Regions from separate parts of the Homo sapiens genome. Here region 1 is linked to region 2. Evidence: promoter capture Hi-C in human tissues and cell types (Jung and others, 2019). All regions are on one chromosome and are shown on one strand. The core of a region is centred on a gene start or on the middle of the fragment in contact, and the rest is flanking DNA. Distances in the headings are between cores, read along the strand shown.

The links. Contacts are between HindIII fragments. The study calls those that stand out against the background at their distance.
Region 1: the fragment with the promoter of RIN1 here is called in contact with the fragment with the promoter of PC in region 2 in 1 of the 25 tissues and cell types used here (bladder).

Annotation. Positions count from the first base shown.
Region 1 is chr11:66,334,984-66,337,683 of GRCh38, forward strand. It overlaps RIN1 (Ras and Rab interactor 1), which reads right to left and starts at 1,451. Exons shown (of 10, transcript NM_004292.3): 1 at 1,334-1,451; 2 at 995-1,175; 3 at 779-893; 4 at 627-699; 5 at 424-515; 6 at 1-268. The coding sequence starts at 1,419. It overlaps BRMS1 (BRMS1 transcriptional repressor and anoikis regulator), which reads right to left. Exons shown (of 10, transcript NM_015399.4): 10 at 2,356-2,700. RefSeq lists an enhancer at 1,931-2,700. The HindIII fragment of the contact is 7,337 bases long and covers 1-2,700 here.
Region 2 is chr11:66,957,093-66,959,792 of GRCh38, forward strand. PC (pyruvate carboxylase) reads right to left here and starts at 1,291. Exons shown (of 23, transcript NM_001040716.2): 1 at 1,230-1,291. RefSeq lists enhancers at 1-85, 1,249-1,298 and silencers at 949-1,048, 1,369-1,728. The HindIII fragment of the contact is 6,851 bases long and covers 1-2,238 here.

The sequences.
Region 1 (2,700 bases), core at 201-2,700, 620 kb before region 2:
CCTGGCAGCACGGGGACGGGGGGAGGTGGCACGGCAGGTGGAGACAGGGGGCTGGAGGTCTCTGTGGACACGCGCACTTTGAAGCTTCTCTTGAATTTCTCCCGCTTGGTGGGCCCTAGGTCCCCCGGGAACAGGGGGTTGAAGAAGCACAAGGCGGCTCCGGTGCCCTGGTCCAGCTCTTGAGGGGACCGGGCCTTCAGCTGGGGCAACACTGGGCCTCCAGCCGGGCCCCGCTGAGCCTTGATGTTGAGGGAGGAGCTCCAGAACTCTAGGGAACAAGAAACCGACTGGGGCCTCCGGGACTGGTTAGGGGAAGTTTCCCAACCAAGGCAAGGCAGGGGCTTCGGGCGGTGTGCTGCGAGCCTTGCCTTCCCCTCGGCCTCAGCTTGTTCATCTGTGCAATGGGTGGCAGGAAGCCCTTACCAATGCCCAGATGGGAGATGGCCTCCAGCTCTTTGTGAGTGGCTGCGTGGTGGATGGCTCTGGGGAGCTGCAGCGGGAGGAGAAGGATGTCCCTGAGGCCAGAGAGGGGAGCAGAAGGGAGTGAGGGCCGAAGAGGGCGGGAAGGATGGGCTGTCCCAAGGAGCAGGGCCCGTGGACACCAGGCACCCTGCGGGCAGACTCACCGGGTGTGGCAGTAGGCACAGATGAGCTGGACTAGGTCTGGGAACATGAGCTCCGAGCCCTCCAAGGAGACGCCTGAGAGAGGAGGGAAGTGAGGTGCTTCTCTGGGGAACCTCCCTGCTTCCAGCCCCTTCCCGCCAGGCCAGCCCCTCACCGCCAGGGCTCTCCAGGATGTAGTGGCTGGAGACGAAGGAGGGGCCACTGGCTTCAGGCAACCGCATGCACAGGGCCTGGCACTGGCGGGTGTTAGATTTCCGCACGAGGAACGTCTGCAAGTGGATAGGGCTCAGGCAGCTCAGGACCTTGGCGTCCCATCCCTCTCCCTCCCACCCCTGGCTGGCCAGTCCCTGGAGTGTGGGGCAAGACTCACCCCCGGGGGCTCGGTCCTCAGCATGTGCAGTGCGGCCGCTGCGTTGGCTTGCAGCTGCAGCCACACGGGCCGGGTGAGCAGCAGGCGCTCCCGCAGGCTCACAACGCGCCCCGGCCGCTGCGGCCCGCCTGCCTGCCCGCCGCTGGCATTGGGCACGTCATACAGTGGGTCCTGGGCTGGCCTGGGGGCAGGCACCCAGATCTGAGCAGGGAGCCAGGGGCTGGGACCCTTGCTCTCCTCTTCCCCACTCCCGGGTTTCCCACTTTCTCTATCCCCGGATAGGCCCTCCTCTCGCAGCCCCTCCCTGCCCCACCTGGCTGCCCTGCCAACTTCACTAACTTTTCTCTCGCCAGGTGCCCAGTAGTGAAGCTGGACGGGCTGGGGGCTCCAGGAGAGCCCGCGCCTGACTCTCCAGGGCTTTCCATGGCTGGGAGCTCCTTCGCTTCAGGAAGAGAATCCAGTCCCAAGGCAAGGCACGCACATCCCCAGTGAGTAACACTTCCTGAGGGCGGTCCGCCTGTCACACCCGCCAGTTAACTCTTGTGTGTCCACCCTGCCTGGCCAGTGCCCGCCTCCTCTGTTCTGGACCCTGCTTTGGGGGTCAGGGGTCCCCTCCATGCTAGCCCTGCTCTGAGGGCCCCAGCTGGGGGATGCCACCTCCACACACGGCCTCCTGCAGCCTCACCAGCTACTCACATTGCACACGTGGGCGGGAAGTGGTTAAGCGGCCTCAGTCCCCACAGGCCCCAGCCATGCTCTGGGGGCACCTTTGGCTCTGTGGTCAGTTGCTCATCTGCCCCTGGCCTCAGGTCAGCCTTGTGGGAGAGCACCCTCTACTGTCCATAGATGACTCATTCCTGAACCTGGGTTTTAGGATTTTAGGTTGCCATGGAGAAAATATGCCATGTCTCCATGGAAACCAACCTATTTGCTTAACTGAGGTTCTGGGGGTGGTTCTGACACTCAGTGCTAACCAGGGGGAGTCTGGCTGTGAGGTCGTCAGCACATGGCGGTGCTGCCGGCTGCCTCCCACGCACGCAGGCTCTGCCAGCCTGCCTTGCCAATCTGCCAGGCAACTGGGACAGGTGCAGACATGACCCAGGCTCCAAGCACACGCATCCACCCTCCCCGCCGAGGCACTCTCCCGGTGCCATATGTTGACTCTGCCCAGCGCCAGGCAGCCCAGCGCCCACCTCCCCCTCCCCAGCCTGGCCCCACGCACAGTGCTCTAGCCTCTGCTGGGTAGTGTGAGGAGTGGCAATCTGCAGGCACCCTAGAAGTCGGCCTGGTTCAGGTGCTCCCCACGGGAGCCCTGATTCTCTTGCAAGGTAAATCACACACACACACAGGGCACGCCAGAGTCCCAGGAAAGGTTTTAATTCCAGTCCTTGGAATCTGAGAAGCAGACACCAAGAACTGCCCTGAGAACACCTGGGGGGCCTGGCATCTTGCCTCCAGATCCAGCCAGGGTGGACAGACCCCCAGATAATCACGTCTGACTCAGAGTTCCCGCACAGTGGAAACTGGCTCCCTGGCCCTGAGGCCGGACAGCCTGCATCCAACATCAGCAAGAGGATGTGGCTTTGACTTCGGCTGTCTTCTCTGTCAGGGGAGCCCCAAGAGATGGATCTTCAGGAGTGGGAGGTGGCAGGCGGCTCAGGGATGGAGACAGCAGCCTTGCCTGGTCAGGTCAGCTCCACGGCCAC
Region 2 (2,700 bases), core at 41-2,540:
ATCCACCCCCAGCACAAGTGTTTGCATCACATACAGGGAAAGGGTGCCTTGGGGGAGGCCAGCCAGGGCTGATGGTGGCAGTGGGTACGGGAGCAATAGGGAGGCAGATGGCAGGCACTCTGGAGGTTCTGGTTGTCATCAGCAAGTGTTGGTACTTCTCTGAGCCTGTTTTCTCAGCTGGAGAACGGGTAAGGAGCCCAGGCCTACCTCTTCTCACAAAATAAAGACACAATCTGATTTTTTAGAATTTCAGACGAGGCACGCCTGTAATCTCAGCACTTTGGGAAGCCAGGGCAGGCCGCTCGCTTGAGCGTAGGAGTTCGAGACCAGCCTGGGCAACATGACGGAACCTCGTCTCTACCAAAAAATACAAAAATTAGCTAGGCGTGGTGGCGCCCGCCTGTAGTCCCAGCACTGGGGGACTGTGGCAGGAGGGTCGCTTGAGCCCGGGAGGTCGAGACTGCAGTGAGCCGAGATCGCGCCACTGCACTCCAGCCTGGGTGGGTGACAGCAAGACCCTGTCTAAAAAAGAAAAGAAAACAAAAGAATCTCAAAGTTGCCAGGGACCTAGGGACTTGGCTTCCGACTCTGATGCGCTTTGTAAACTACTAAAAGCTGGAGAAATAAGGGGCTGAGCCCAGCCCCACCTCCTGAATGAGCGGCCTTGGGCGAATCACTGCGTCTGGGCGCCTGGAGCTTCCCCGTCTGAAACAAAGTAGAGGATCCTACGGGAGGCGGAGTGCGAGAGCAAGGAACAAGGAAAGCCCTCGCCTTACACGCCGCGGCTTCCTGCAGAGCTGAGCCACATCCAGTACGATGGGGACAACTTGGGCTCCCGATCCTGACAGACTTGGGTTCGAACCCTCAGGGACCTCGCGCGAGGCGCTTTAGTCAGTTTCTCCATCTGCAAAATGGGCCCGAGAGCAAGAATGAGGCAGCCCGCAGGCGGACGCTGCGGAGGGGCGCTCGGGGGCTGCAGCCGGGGGCGGGTCCGGGGGCGGGTCCAGCCGGCCGAGCCCCCGCGCGAGGGGGAGGGGCGCCGTCCGCTGCGTCGCGTCGCGCACCGCGCACAGCCCGTCGCTGTCTCCTCCAGCCGTCACTCGCGGAGCCCGCGCCGCCTTTGCGCGCGCGACCCTTACATAAGCGTCCCTCGCAGCGGTGCCGGCGCACGTCCACCCGCTCCGACCCGCCGCGGGAAGAGGACCGTGCGGAGCGCGGCGGACACTCACCTCCTCGCCGTCGCCAGTCCTCGCCGCCGCCTCTACCGCTGCTGCCTCCACTGACAGAGAACAGCTGCGGTCTCCGTGCAACCGAACTTGCTGCAGTCCCGGCCCCGCCTTACGGACTTCCTATTGGCCCAGACAGCCCAACCCCTCCCGTTATTGGGCAGTGTTCTCCGTCACTCCTCGCCCCTAGGCTCTGGACTCCTCCCTGTGCCCGCCTGTCCGTCACGTTTAAGCCTTGGCGCCCCACGTCAGCCCCGCCCCTCCCGTCCCCGGCGAGCGCCTGGATAAGTGGCGAGGCTGGGAGAGCCCGCCCCTGGCGCACCACCGCCTACTCCCTTGTCTCCGGAGCCTCACGTGGGCCGCCGGACCCTAGCCGACGCCCGCAATAGGCGGAAGTGGCCGGGCTGTGGCTCGCAGTTATTGGCTGTCGGCGGGGGTGGGGACGTTCGATTCATTCACCCGAGTAGCACGTGTCTCCCGAAGCTGCAAGCACAACAGTTCGCACTGGGGCTCAGGCATCCCGGCTAGACGCAGATACGCGCTGGCTAGCGGAGAAGAGGTCGCAGGAAAAGCTAACGTTAGCGAAGGGCAGGAGGAAGGAGAAGGCGCTTGTGCCACACGGGTTACATGACTATGTCCTTTAACAGCTGCGTAGATGATGATGGGGGTCTACAGTACGTCTGTGTGACCTTGGGCAAGCAACTTAACCTCTGAGTCTCGGTTTTGTCATCTGCAGAGCGAAGCTACTCAGGACCTAGGGGGTTTGGAAGCCTTGTTTGAGACACAAGACACTTGACAAGACCCAAGACACTTGTCAAAGAGGAAAGCTTTGACAAGTGGAACAAGTGACTGAGGCATAAGTCTCTGTCATCGAGGCTTATTAATCCAGTTTGAGGGCGTGCTCGGGAAAAACACGAACCACAGACACATCCGTGGTTGTTTTTCCGAAGAGGTTTTCGGGAGGTTTAGTATTTATGCATTTCCTTAAAGGGGGAATGAGGGGAAGGCATGTAGGAAGAAGGGCAAGTAGGCGATTAGGACAATAGTTACATTCCTATGGGACTTTAGCTAATGCCCGGTAAATCTACGTAAGATGAGATGAATGTCTGAAGAGAAAAAGAGAGTAAAGGAAGAGTCAGTTATGCAGATGTCTCTGAGTAGGTAGTTTTGACTTTGTTCTGCACCTGGGAAAATAAGCTTGTAATGACATTCTTATTGTGGAATTTTTAGGAGCTAGACTTAGATTGTAGACCTGAAGCTACAATTGACCTGTCCTTGTTTATGGGAGGCCAGCAAGAATTTACTTGTGAATGATCTGTGGGGGCAGCCCTTCCCAAATGCCTGAGGTTTTTACCTTTCCGTGTGGATATGGCTGATGCCTAATGCTAGTAACAGCTATTCTTTTGGAAGAGGGTGTTGCAGTGACTCAGCTTCAAGGCTTAATCTTCACTTTCGCATGAATTGGGGCGCTGGG